5 separate regions of the Homo sapiens genome follow, and regions 2, 3, 4 and 5 are each linked to region 1. The links are contacts of gene promoters, found by promoter capture Hi-C in blood cells and fetal thymus (Javierre and others, 2016). All regions are on one chromosome and are shown on one strand. The core of a region is centred on a gene start or on the middle of the fragment in contact, and the rest is flanking DNA. Distances in the headings are between cores, read along the strand shown.

Region 1 (2,828 bases), core at 48-2,547:
AAATACCAAATGAAATAAAGTTTAGATTAAGTCACATTCAAAAGCTACAGGAAATCCTACAAAACGTAGTCTATGTCAGCTGGCATCTTACCATTCAAGAGAATTCTAAATTAATGCCGCACATAAATCAAGAAACAGGAAAGCTTACAACAACACAATGGAGTCACCCCACAACACACACACGAACAAATTAAATGAATACCTCATACTTTCTGGTATTTTTTGAATAATCAAAACTTAGGTTGAGAAATACCCATCTGTAAAGATCTATCTACTATAACCTATTTAAGAACTGTTGTAACAAATCTATTTCTGCTGCACTGAACAGATATTCCCACTATAGCACTGACACTGACTCTGATAAATTATCGAAGGACAATAGTAAAAACATCAGTTTCTTTTTAAATGACCAACAAGCCAACTCCATACAAAATCTGACGCGTCTGTATTTCAGCTGTTCCGCGGACTACGTTTCCTTGATCACAGCAGCAGCAGGCGACTCCCTAGCCGTCAGGGCTGACTTAGCGCCCTCCAACTCCCCGGGTCCGGGTTACCTTCATCACTCCATTGTCAAATCGCACTCCCACGCCTCGGTCCTCAGCCCCCATCCTGAGACTCTAGGGAGAGTCGGAAGTGGGAGAGAAATCCCCTCACCCACACTCCCTCACTGTAGGCTGTGGGTGTGTCGGTAGACGAATGCCTTGCCCAAACACAAATCGTCTGCGGAGACCCAGACCCTAAGTCACCACCGAGCCAGAGATAACCGGCCGGTCACCGACCCCAGCCTTCCGCGGCCGCAGCCCTTCCTCTTTCTCCCCTCCAGGCCGGCCCCTCCCCCGTTGCGCGCACGCGCGGCCTCCAATGGATCCCCTCCCCCCCCGTTCCCCTCACCTTAATCATTAGCCACCCTCTTCTCTTCCAGGGTCCGGGAATCACTGACCCAGGAAGGAAGACAGAAATGTAAGGCGTAAAGAGTAATGCGTCGAGAGCCAGCGATCTGCGCCTCAGACGTCGGCCTAATAGGCCCCTAGAGTCAAGAACAGTGTCTGTCACCGCCACCAAAACTGTACGTGCGGCAGCGCCTGGACTCGGCCCAGCTAAGCCGGCGTGGGTTCAGAATGCCTAATTTGGTCCCACAAGAACTCCTTCTCTGAAGCTGCGGGCGTTTCTACGCTGCGCAAACCGAACACCTCCTCGCCGTCGCCGCCACTGCCGCTGCTCCCCTACAGCCGCCGCCGCCGCTTCGCCGCCGCCGCCGCCTAACCAATTCCTCCCCTACCGAGGAGAGCACGACACTAGGGCTCTTTACGACAGTTCGGAAAGTGAGAGCGCAGTAGCCTTCACGCCTCCATTAACATCTGTTTGTTTCTGCGCTTGCTCGATTCCCGTTTCTCACCGTCCCGCCCCCTCGGTCCCGGCCCTCCCCCTTTGTACTGGTTTTATCAGTCTGTTGGCGAACTGAAAGGTGTCACAAAGCTCATTATTTAATTTTCTTTGGTGATTATGCGTTCAACATTTAAGCCAAATCTTGACTACATCTTGGTTCATTTTTTCGTAACTAAAAATTAACCAACTACAGAATTGATACATTTACAGATATACGTAAACAAAAACATCATGGGTTAGTGTCTTTCACAACAAATGATACCCATATCATATGCGCTAATGACATAAAGATCACGGCACCTCACTGTTAAAGTGAATTTGCTTCCGGAATCAGATCAAAAGTGGTCACATATCTCCTGCGAACTCGGGCTGTACAATCGCATAAGCCTCCTTGTTTATTTTATAAAAGTCAGTAGATAACAAATGCGTCATTATATGCATTAGGAGGATAGAGAGAGGATGAGCTTCAGAGTCCATCAGGCAGACTTCCTTTCAAAGTCCAGTGGTGCCACTTAAGAGTTCTCTGATTGATGAGATCCTTATAAATCTTAGTTTCCTCCTCTATAAATTGGGATAACGTATTTACCTCAAAAGGTTCTTGTTAGATTAAATGAGACAATTTATATAATGCTCTGAACATTACTTGCCAATTAAGTGTTCACTAAACATTAATTCCCTCCCTTTGCCATCAACTCATCTTTTTCAATACTTTTTTTGTTCACTCATATTTTCCGTATCATTCAGTAAGCAAATGATTTTGGCCGGGCACGGTGGCTCACGCCTGTAATCCCAGCACTTTGGGAGGCCTAGGCGGGTGGACTACCTGAGATCAGGAGTTCAAGACCAGCCTGGCCAACATGGTGAAACTCCTTCTCCACTAAAAATACAAAAACTAGCTGGGCGTGGTGGCGGACGCCTGTAATCCCAGCTACTCGGCAGGCTGAGGCAGGAGAATCGCTTGAGCCAGGGTGGCCGAGGTTGCAGTGAGCCATGATCAAGCCATTGCACCCCAGCCCGGGTGACAGGGAGACTCCGTCTCCAAGAAAAAAAAAAAAAAGGCTGGGCGCGGTGGCTCACGCCTGTAATCCCAGCACTTTTGGAGGCCAAGGCGGGCGGATCATGAGGTCAGGAGATGGAGACCATCCTGGCTAACACGGTGAAACGCTGTCTCTACTAAAAATACAAAAAATTAGCCGGGCGTAGTGGCGGGCGCCTGTAACCCCAGCTACTCGGGAGGCTGACACAGGAGAATTGCTAGGACCCGGGAGGCAGAGGTTGTAGTGAGTGCGAGATTGTGCCACTGCACTCCAGCCTGGGCGACAGAGTGAGATTCCGTCTCAAAACAAACAAACAAACAAACAAACAAAACACACACACACACACACACACAAATGATTTTAAAATTACAATAATGATCAAGGATAGCAGATTGTGTGGGAAAA
Region 2 (2,700 bases), core at 180-2,679, 650 kb before region 1:
TTACAGGCATGTGCCACCACGCCTGGCTAATTTTGTTGTTTTTAGTAGAGACAAGGTTTCACCATGTTGGTCAGGCTGGTCTTGAACTCCTGACCTTAGATGATCCGCCCGCCTCGGCCTCCCAAAGTGCTGGAATTACAGGCATGAGCCACCATCCCCGGCCAATTCTAAGATTTTTTTAAATCAATGCCTGCAATGTGCAGCACTTAGCCTAAAATATTATATTTGAGGCTTGTTTTCTTTGTCCATGTTGTCTTACTATCATGGCATGTTGGTCCTGTACAAGCCATGATAGTAACACAACATGGATAGTAAGGTCTCATAACAGTTTCAGCTGCTCTGGATGATTATTTGCCATCTCCTTAGGGAGCCTCCAGAATTAATTTGTAGCTTTTGTCAGTCCATCCTAAAATCTTCTCTAATTTGATGAATATTCATCTATTTTTTGCATGCTGTAGTAAGAATGTAATCTTATTTTTCTAGTACATAGGGAGGCACAATCTGCAAGGAGTTTAGGGCAAAGCATTTTACCTAATAAGAGGTACAGGAACTTGGCAACACACAGCAAAGTATTTAGTGGGAATTAGCTCAAAAGAGCATTGTGTAGAAATATGCTCAACGGAACTTTCTCTTGAATATCCCAACTCTTATTATCTGATTCTGTGAACTTCCTGAAATTCTATTCAAGAGAAATAGGCTTCAAAACTGGTTCTTTTGCCTGTAGGCAGAGATGTGAAGGTATACTTTCCACTTCTGGAGACACATGGGCAGCACTGATTCTTTGGCCAAGTTAAGGGATGGACACAGAAGCTTTGTGCATTTCTCTTTCCTGCTTCTACTCCCTCTATTCCCTGATAGGAATACTCTATCTGCAGACTTCCACATTTAGTCATGCCAGAGTAAGAAGGATGGGACTTAACTTCCTTCTATAAACAACTAGAAAAGTAAATTAAGTATATGAAACAAACGTTTTCCACATATTGGACCACAGGCAGCTGTGACAGGACTGTAATCCCTAAGAAAGGAAAAAAATAGGATGAACCCTGTAATCATCCCAGCTCTCTTCATGGAGGCAATATCCAAGCTGCAGGCACAGGGAAAGGAAATAGAAACAGAACCTGGCAGTCTTGCGGAGTTGAGGAAAGGTGAGATAGTTGAAGCTGCAAGCAGATTTCCAGAAAGGAGAACACTATGGAGGGAAAAAAAAACCTCCAGGAATCTATACCGTGGTCCCCTCGAGTCCTTACTGAGTGCCTGGCTGCATAGAAGCAGTGACACTCCGCTAGGCCAAGCTAAGAGTGGGGAGTTGGAAACAGCAATTCCCAAAGCTCACACTGGGGGATGCCAGAGGGAAGAGTCCTCTGTAATCACCCAAGACATTAGAAACCCCAAGGTCATGCCTTGGTAGCAGGCATCAAATATCCCTTGAATGAAGGCTGCTTGACTTAAACTCACCCTAGCAAAGCGGAAAAGCAGACTCAAGGGAGATCACACTGTTCCACAAATATTGCCAAAATGAAGCCCAACACAAGTAAACGAAGTCCAGATCCTCAATAACTTAAGAGTTACAATGTACTCCATCTAACAGAAAAATGACTAGACATGCTAAGCAGCAGGAAAATGTGACCATAATGAGGACAAAACATAATGAACAGGAACAGACACAGAAATGACAGGGGTGATACAGCTAGCAGACAAGGATGTTAAAACTGCCATTTTTGTATTAATACAAATACTTAATGAGAAAAATCAAAGATTTTTTTAAAAAGCAGAACTTCTAGAGATGAAAGATACAATATATGAAAACAATTAACTGAATAGCAGACTAGATACTAAAGAAGATCAGTGAAATTGAAAAACAAATTTTATCTAAAATACAGCACAAAGAGAATATAACTAGGGAAAAAAGGAATCAAACCTCAGAGATTTTTGGAATAATATCGAGTGGCTATATATGGAAGGGAGAACAGAAAGATGAAATTAAGGAGACAGTGGCCAAATTTTTCCAAATTTGACGAAAACTATAAACCAACAACGAAGAAGCTTAACTCCAAGCAGGATAACCACAGTACATCAAAATCTAATTGCTGAAAAATAGTGATAAAGAGAAAATTTAAAAGCAGAGGTAAGAGACACTTTATACCCACAAAAACAAAGATAATGATTTCCAAAGACTACTTGTTAACAGCTATGCAGCTAGAAGACAATGAAATAAAATCTTAAAAATACTGAAGACCACCTCACACCCATAAGGATGGCTACTAGCAGAGAAAAAAAAATTAATAAGTGTTGGTGAGAATATAGACATAGTGGAATTCTTTTACAGTATTGGTGAGAATATAAAACTGGCACAACTAAGGAAAACAGTATGATGGTTCCTCAAAAAATTAAAAATAGAATTACCAACCAGGCATGTCGGGTCACACTTGTAATCCCAGCACTTTGGGAGGCTGAGGCGGGAGGGATTGCTTGAGGCCACTAGTTAGAGACCAGCCTGGGCAACATAGAGACTCCCATCTCCACCAAAAAAAAAAAAAAAATTAGCCAGGTGTGGTGGCATGCACCTGTAGTCCCATCTACTTGGGTGGCCAAGGCAGGAGAATTGCTTGAGCTCAGGAGTTCGAGGCTATAGTGAGCTATACCTGCGCCACTGCACTCTAGCCTGGGCAATGGAGCAAGACTCCATCTCAAAAAATATAT
Region 3 (2,700 bases), core at 72-2,571, 550 kb before region 1:
TTAGCTGGGCATGGTGGCGGGCACCTGTAATCCCCGCTACTTGGGAGGCTGAGGCAGGAGAATCACTTGAGCCCAGGAGGTGGAGGTTGCAGTGTGCCGAGATCATGCTATTGCACTCCAGCCTGGATGACAAAAGTGAAACTCTGTTTCAAAAAAAAGAAAGGGAGGGAAGGAAGGAAGGAGGAAGGGAGGGAGGGAAGGGAAGGAGGGAGGGAGGGAGGGAGGAAGGGAAGGAAGGAAGGAAAGAAGGAAGGAAGGAGGGAAAGATTTCAAGTGCTATCCTGAGAATGATTCCATCTCAACAGTTTCCTTAGGCCATTTAATTCAGTTCAAATTTCCAAGCCAAAGTATTTGCCCCTTAGTGGGAGGTAAGGAGTCCTTTCAATAACATTTCCACCAGAACCACACAGAACCGGGGCTTGTTCTTCAAGAGAAGCCAGAGGCTGTCACCCTAGTAAAAGAAGGCACAGGCTGGCCAGGCAGCAGGAGACATCCACTTCAACCCAGTTATATTTTGAACCCAAAGGCACAACCACGTCTTTATCTTTATTACATTTTTAAATGGATGTTGAGTGTTTATTTTCCTCCAGGTTATTGGTAGAGAGTGTTTTAATATTTTTATCACTCCAAAAAGAAACCTTGTCCGCATTAGCAGTCACTTATCATTCCACCTTCACCCCAGTTTCTGGAAACCACCAAGCCACTTTCTGTGTTTATAGATTGGCCTGTTCTGAACATTTTATAATGCATGAAATTTTACCCTATGTGGTCTTTTGTGACTGGCTTCCTTCACTTCAGATATATTTCCAGGCTGGTCGTGGTGTCTCACACCTATAATCACAGTACTTTGTGAGACCGAGGTGGGTAGATCGTTTGAGCCCAGGAGTTTGAGAACAGCCTGGGCAACATGGCGAAACCCCATCTCTACTAAAAATACAAAAATCAGTCAGGCATGGTGGTGAGCACCTGCATTCCCAGCTGTTTTGGGGGCTGAGGCACGAGGATCACCTGAACCTTGGGAGATCCAGGCTGCAGTGAGCCGTGATCAGGCCGCTGCACTCCAGCCTGGGCAACAGAGTGAGATACTGTCTCAAAACATTTAATTTTAAAAAAAAAGAATCTTTCCAAGGGTCATCCATGATGTAGCATGGATCACAATTCCATTCCTTTTTACGGCTGAATAATATTACATTGTATTATGTGCCACATTTTATTTATCCATTCATCAGTTGATGAATATTTGTGTTGTTCCCACCTTTTGTCTACTATGAAAATGCTTCTATGAATATTCTTTTTTTTTTTTTAGATTTCCTCAAATTCCTTTTTGTCATGTTATGAATATTCTTGTACAGGTCTTTGTGTGGACCTAGGTTTTCAGTTCTTTGGTGTACACACTTAGCAGTAAAACTGCTGGGTCATATGGGAACTCTATACTCAACATTTTGAAGAACTGCCTGTTTACCACACTCTTTTCCAGGGTGTGGCATGGTGACTCACATCTGTAATCCTAGCACTTTGGGAGGCCAAGGCAGAAGGATCACTTGAGGAGTTCAAGGTCAGCCTGAGCAACATAATAAGACCCTGCCTCTACCAAGAAAAAAAAAATATATATATATATATATACACGTATATATATACGCGTATATATATACACGTATATATATACACATATACACACGTATATATATACACGTATATATACACACGTATATATATACACGTATATATACACACATATATATACACGTATATATACACACATATATACACGTATATATACACACGTATATATACACGTATATATACACACGTATATATACACGTATATATACACACGTATATATACACGTATATATACACACGTATATATACACGTATATATACACACGTATATATACACGTATATATACACACGTATATATACACGTATATATACACACGTATATATACACGTATATATACACACGTATATATACACGTATATATACACACGTATATATACACGTATATATACACACGTATATATACACGTATATATACACACGTATATATACACGTATATATACACACGTATATATACACGTATATATACACACGTATATATACACGTATATATACACACGTATATATACACGTATATATACACACGTATATATACACGTATATATACACATATATATACACGTATATACGTATATATACACATATACGTATGTATATACACACATATACACGTATATATATATGTACATATATACACACATATATACGTACATATACATACACACACACATATATATACACACACACATATATATGTGTATATATACACATACATATATATAAAAAATATATAGCTGGGTGTGGTGGCCTGCACTGATACTCTTAAATACTCAGGAGGCCGAGTGGGTAGGATCACTTGAGCCAGGAGGTTGAGGCTACAGTGAGCTATAATTGTATCACTGCACTCTAGCCTGAGCAACAGAGTGAAAACTTATCTCAAAAATAAATAAGTAAATGAAACCAAAGGGGCTGCACCAGTTTGCATTTTCACTGGCAATATATGAGGTTTCCAAATTTCTTCACATCTTCATCAAAACTTGTTACTAGCCAGGCACAGAGCCTGATGTCTGTCATTCCGGCATTTTGGGAGGCTGAGGTGGAAGGATTGCTGGAGACCAAGAGTTTCAGACCAGCCTG
Region 4 (2,717 bases), core at 181-2,680, 760 kb after region 1:
TGGCAGAAGCAAGTATAAACTAAACTTGAAATTAATTGCTCTGGTTGTGAAAGAAATGGCTATTTTAAAATTGCGGTAATTTCTCCACATTGTTACATTTATACATTTTTTTTAAACATTAAGTGGTGAAGCCAGGAGACTCAGGCACACAGAACGAGACCCATTTCTATTTTCTTTGGCAGGGGAGTTGCACTAGGTGAGTGGACAGCCCAGCAGCAAGGGACATGTCTGGGGGTGGGTCAGGGACAGGCCTCTAGCTGGGCAGTGTGTGAGCACTGGGGGATGACAGCTGTGTCCTGACTGGCTGCTGCTGTGCCAAGACCTTGGCTGTGTTTCCTGCTTGGGTTCCATCCCACAATCATGCACTGGCTTTTCTGCTTCCTGGCCAATTCTGTGAGCCCCCAGGGGCCTTGACCACAGATGCTTTTTCTGCTTAAGTTAGTTGTATTGAGTTTCCATTGTTTGCAACCAAGAACACTGATGCATTTATTTAGCAAATTAATTAGCTCAGTGATTCACTTACTCAACATTGCCTGAGCACGACACTGCGTGAAGTAGGTCTTGTTGTTCTTCATTTTGTGGATGCAGGAGTGGAAGCTTAGAGAATTAGAATTTTGAAAATTCATATTACAATCTAGCTTTTGGTGTTAAAGTGGTGTTTGCTGTTTCTTTATCATTTTCCTGTAGTCAACAGAGTTAACATTTTGTCTCAAACCCTGGAGGATTTCAAAGCCTCATCACTGGGAAAATGCCCATGTTACAGACCCCAGCAGTCACCTACCCAGTTGGAGTTATTTATGCCTTTTGTCCAGAAGAACCTGGGCAGGGTTCCCAAAAGACCCTTCCTCTGTATAAACTGCATAGGCAGACCTGAGTATGAGGGGGCTTTTGGTGAGGCCTTTTTGGAACAGCACCCCTATAAGACTAAGTGTGTATGTGTATTGAGGGGAGGGGGGCAATGTTAGACGGTTGGCTCGCATAAATTCCATCTATTGCATCATTTTGAGCACGTGATTCTACCTAGAACCTGAAAGGAGGAATGATTTTACAAATCATTCAGTTCCACTGAAGCAAAAATAGTTTTCCTCTGGAACTTAATGCTAGGATAAATCTTTCTCCTCTTTCTAGAAAAAGAAAGAGAAAGGAGGATCAATCCTTTGCAAAAGACAAAACCTCCACTTCCCAAAGTCTTGGGGTAGGCCGCTGGAGATTCAGTGATTGTTTGATGATGCTGACTAATGTAGACAGCCAACTTGAGGCCATTCTTCCAGACCAAATGGCGTTGTTCTGTGTGACATGGATACTAAAAACCCTACCAGCTTTTTGAAGCCTTCTTGATAAGTATTTAGCAAATGAAGTCTACCTCAAACCCATGTTCTACATTGGACTTACAGAGATGTGTAGGGAGGGAGGTTAGATAAGGGCCACAAGTAAGTTTTCCTCTGGAGGAGAGACATGGCCTTTTTTGGAATCACAGGAGTTGCTGATGGACAAAGGGCAAGGGTTTTCCAGGGAGAGGCTACATTTTTAACAGTTCACAAATGGACTGTGCAACATTGTTCACCTTCTTAATCTGTCACTCTCTCTTTGCCTTTTTATGTGTACAGCTTTTGACTTGTTTTTGTGATTGGTGTTATTTTCTAATTCTACATTCCTTTTCCACTACAATTATTGCCACTTATCATCAGCTCCATCTTGTGGGGAAGTAATTTAGCCTGCTTCTCTGACAGTGATGTCATTTTTCAGCTCACACTGTGGGAAGGTGGAGCTGGCTCAGAGACTATGCTATGTAGGACTGAAACACCATCAGATTCCTCTCTTGATCATTATGTGTGGGCTTTATTTTTTCCTTGACAGATGAACTTTCTCTACTCAACAGGGATGTGGCCACCAGCAGCTTCCAGGCTCTTAACCTCGGAGCTTTGCTGCCAGACACGAAAAGATCTTTTCCCCTTAGTTCTAATCTTTAGTCACTGGAAGAGATACTGATTGGCTTGAATTGGGTTATGTGTTCAACCCTGGGCCAATCACTGATGCTAAAATATTTGCATGTAAAAAAGAGAAATACTCTGTTTTGGAACCCTTGTTTTAGTATTGAGATGCTGGGAAAAGAAATTGTTTCCCCAAAGAGGCCACTATTCCCAGGAGAAAGGAAAAGAGGCACTTGGCTAACAATAAATATTTACTGAGCACCTACTATGTGCTAGACAGTACATTTGGAAGCAGGAGACAGAGTAAGAACTGTTTTAAGAATATAAGCTTTTGGGGAAATTTACAGAAATCTTGCAGAAAGCTTTGAATTTCCACAGAGCGTGGACTAGGACTTCATATCAATTTTATCCAGATTCAAACGCTGAAGAGATTTTAGTGGATATTCTAGTTTGTTTTATTTAAAACACAATGTGTTGTGTTTTAAATACATTGTATTTTAAATAAAACTAGAATACTATCTTTGATGCCAAGTAACTTTAAAGATAGAGACGTTTTGCCCCAGGAGGAAATTTGAATAGTGGCCTCAGTGTTCTTAACACTTAAGGAAATTGATAAGGATCTGAAAGGCAATATGATACAGTGCAACTAGTAGATTTATTGTCAGAAGATTTGGTGTCAGTTTTTAATTCTACTAATAGTAAAATGGATGACTCTGGGGGGGTCTCAGGTTGGGCCCCAGGTGGCAGACCCTGAATTGGAGATCAAGGTTCAGGAGGATTAATAGG
Region 5 (2,733 bases), core at 186-2,685, 710 kb before region 1:
CCTTCTCTGTGGAAACCATGTGCCTAATAATAGAGAGAGCTTCCCAGAGAAAAGCCGCTCCACCACTCACCCTGAACACTGTTATCATTCTTTTTTTTTTTTCTTTTTCTTTTTTGACACAGAGTCTCACTCTGTCACCCAGGCTGGAGTACAGTGGCATGATCTCAGCTCACTGCAACCTCCGCCTCCCAGGTTCAAGCAATTCTCCTGCCTCAGCCTCCCAAGTAGTTGGGATTACAGGCACGCACCACCACGCCCAGCTAATTTTTGTATTTTTAGAGACAGGGTCTCACCATTTTGGCCAGGATGATCTCAATTTCTTGACCTCATGATCCGCCCACCTCGGCCTCCCAAAGTGCTGAGATTACAGGTGCGAGCCACCACACCTGGCCTATTATCATTCTTTCAAGAAGTTGTCAGAGGGCCTGTTCTCATCAGTCTGATACATCACTCCCTGTTAGCATAGGTCAGATGGTGTCTTCTGCCTCCCCGTCTAGCCATCATGTCCATGCCTTCAGCCTTTCATCACTATCCACCACTCTCGGCACAGGCTCAACACCTCTTCCAAGTCTATGTTGGCTGAGCACTTTTATTTTAATGTACAAAGTGTGACAAAGTATCATAAATGCTTTTAACACATACTGAAGCATATATTCAAATGAGTGCTGCCTTTCTCAAAGTTCGTTGTCTTAGGAGGACTCATCCTAACGCTGCTGCCACTGTGCAGGATACCTTTCAATCTCTTCTTTTGGAATTCGATTATAAATTAATAGATGATTCCTTTTCCACATTGCTCATTATATTGGCTACAAATAAATCCTTACCATTAAAAAAAATCCCTTTTTAATCTGGCCTTTGACTACTTCCTTTTTGTTAAGGGCTATTTACAGCCACCCCTTCTCCCATTGCTTGTGCTCTGGTCATGCTGAACACTGCAGTTCCTAGAAGCCTCTGTGAATCTGCATATTCCAATTCCCTCTGCCAGAAAGATCATCCTCTTGTTACTAAGCTCAAGATCTCCTCATTCAGAAAACCTCTACTGCCTTTATCTCCCACTCTCTAATCTGTTTAGCTCCCTTCAATTTAGCTGCACCTTAAAAGTACCAAGGTCACCTCAATCCACCAAATTGTTTATTGTCTTCATTGCTCCTCTCCCTAACCAGTTGATAAGCTCTTTGAATGCAGATACTATGTCTTTTTTTTTCCTGCATCCTCGGGGCCCAACAGCATTGATTTATGATATTGTTCAATAAAGATTTACTGGCCAGGTGTGGTGGCTCCCACCTGTAATCCCAGCAATTTGAGAGGCTGAAGCAGGCAGATCACTTAAGGTCAGGAGTTGGAGACCAGCCTGGTCAACATGGCGAAACCCTGTCTCTACTAAAAAATGAAAGTAAAAAGATTAGCCGGGTGTGGTGGCACACGCCTATAGTCCTGCTACTCTGATGGCTGAGGCACAAACCCAGAAGGCGAAGGTTGCAGTGAGCCAAGATCGTGCCACTGCACTCCAGCCTAGATGGCAGAGTGAAACCCTGTCTCAGAACATATATATATATATATCTCAAGCGGGCATGGCAGAGCACTTCGAGAGGCTGAGGCAGGAGGATTGCTTGAGGCCAGGAGTTCGAGACCAGCCTAGGTAAAATAGCAAGACCCCATTTCTAAATAAATATTTAAATAAGTAAATAAAGATGTATCAAATGAATGGATACTTGAAAGAAGTGGGTAATCTAAAATGACAACTTTGAAAGTAAACATTCATTTGACTGAGTCCTAGGTGAGTTCAAGAATTACTGGATTATTCAATAAATGCTTTTACACAAACTCTTTAGTCAGTTTAGTAAAGTCAGACTCCCTATTCATATCATAAGCACATACACAAAATGCCAATTGGATTTAATATTCATATGTAAAAAAAAAAAGAAAAGAAAAAAGAAAAAGAAACTATAAGACCACCAGAAGAAAACAACAGTGATGGGCCGGGCGCAGTGGCTCACTGTAATCCCAGCACTTTGGGAGGCTGAGGCGGGCGGATCACGAGGTCAGGAGTTCAAGATCAACCTGGCCAAAATGGTGAAACCCTGTCTCCACTAAAAATATAAAAATTAGCTGGGCGTGGTGGCAGGCACCTATAATCCCAGCTACTTGGGAGGCTGAGGCAGATAATTGCTTGAACCCAGGAGATGGAGGTTGCAGTGAGCCGAGATCACGCCACTGCACTCCAGCCTGGGCGACAGAGCGAGACTCCGTCTCAAAAAAAAAAGAAAAAGAAAACAACAGTGACTATACAATTTTAGTGTGAGGAATGCCTATTTAAACATAACACCAAAAACTACACAAGAAAAGGCTGACCATGGCTCTGAGCTAATGTATCACTCTCCAAGTGTTACCTGCTATGTAGGGCATAAGGGCTGGAAGCCATGCTTTTTTTTCCACGGAATTTTTCCCCAATTTTTAAGAGCTTAAATATCTGCCTATTCAAGGAAACAATAAGTAATTGTAAAAATACCCTAAATCTTGTCCAAAAAGTCTGGAAACACAGGGAATACAGTGGGTTTTTTTGTTTGTTTGTTTTTTGAGACAGAGTCTCGCTCTGTCATCCAGGCTGGAGTTCAGTTGCGCGACCTCGGCTCACTGAAACGTCCACCTCCCAGGTTCAACCGATTTCCCTGCTTCAGCCTTCCAAGTAGCTGGGATTACAGATGTGTGCCACCACACCCAGCTAAATTTTGT

What was found. Contacts are between HindIII fragments. The CHiCAGO score rates a contact against its expected background, and 5 or more counts as called.
Region 2: a fragment that was not itself captured here is called in contact with the fragment with the promoter of RNF111 in region 1 in 1 of 17 cell types (M2 macrophages); the score reaches 5.2 in M2 macrophages.
Region 3: a contact is called between a fragment that was not itself captured here and the fragment with the promoter of RNF111 in region 1, in 8 of 17 cell types (neutrophils, total CD8 T cells, total B cells and 5 more). The highest score is 10.7, in neutrophils.
Region 4: a contact is called between a fragment that was not itself captured here and the fragment with the promoter of RNF111 in region 1, in 3 of 17 cell types (fetal thymus, megakaryocytes and endothelial precursors). The highest score is 8.2, in fetal thymus.
Region 5: a contact is called between a fragment that was not itself captured here and the fragment with the promoter of RNF111 in region 1, in 1 of 17 cell types (neutrophils). The highest score is 9.6, in neutrophils.

What each region holds. Positions count from the first base shown.
Region 1 is chr15:58,986,132-58,988,959 of GRCh38, reverse strand. It overlaps RNF111 (ring finger protein 111), which reads right to left and starts at 1,297. Exons shown (of 14, transcript NM_017610.8): 1 at 892-1,297. RefSeq lists a silencer at 414-578. The HindIII fragment of the contact is 2,845 bases long and covers 146-2,828 here.
Region 2 is chr15:59,631,545-59,634,244 of GRCh38, reverse strand. No RefSeq gene overlaps it. Among named protein-coding and RNA genes, the nearest start is that of GCNT3, 21 kb to the right of the region's middle. The HindIII fragment of the contact is 1,233 bases long and covers 813-2,045 here.
Region 3 is chr15:59,538,753-59,541,452 of GRCh38, reverse strand. No RefSeq gene overlaps it. Among named protein-coding and RNA genes, the nearest start is that of GCNT3, 72 kb to the left of the region's middle. The HindIII fragment of the contact is 5,264 bases long and covers 1-2,700 here.
Region 4 is chr15:58,221,910-58,224,626 of GRCh38, reverse strand. No RefSeq gene overlaps it. Among named protein-coding and RNA genes, the nearest start is that of AQP9, 85 kb to the right of the region's middle. The HindIII fragment of the contact is 1,662 bases long and covers 600-2,261 here.
Region 5 is chr15:59,693,182-59,695,914 of GRCh38, reverse strand. No RefSeq gene overlaps it. Among named protein-coding and RNA genes, the nearest start is that of BNIP2, 5.2 kb to the right of the region's middle. The HindIII fragment of the contact is 5,936 bases long and covers 1-2,733 here.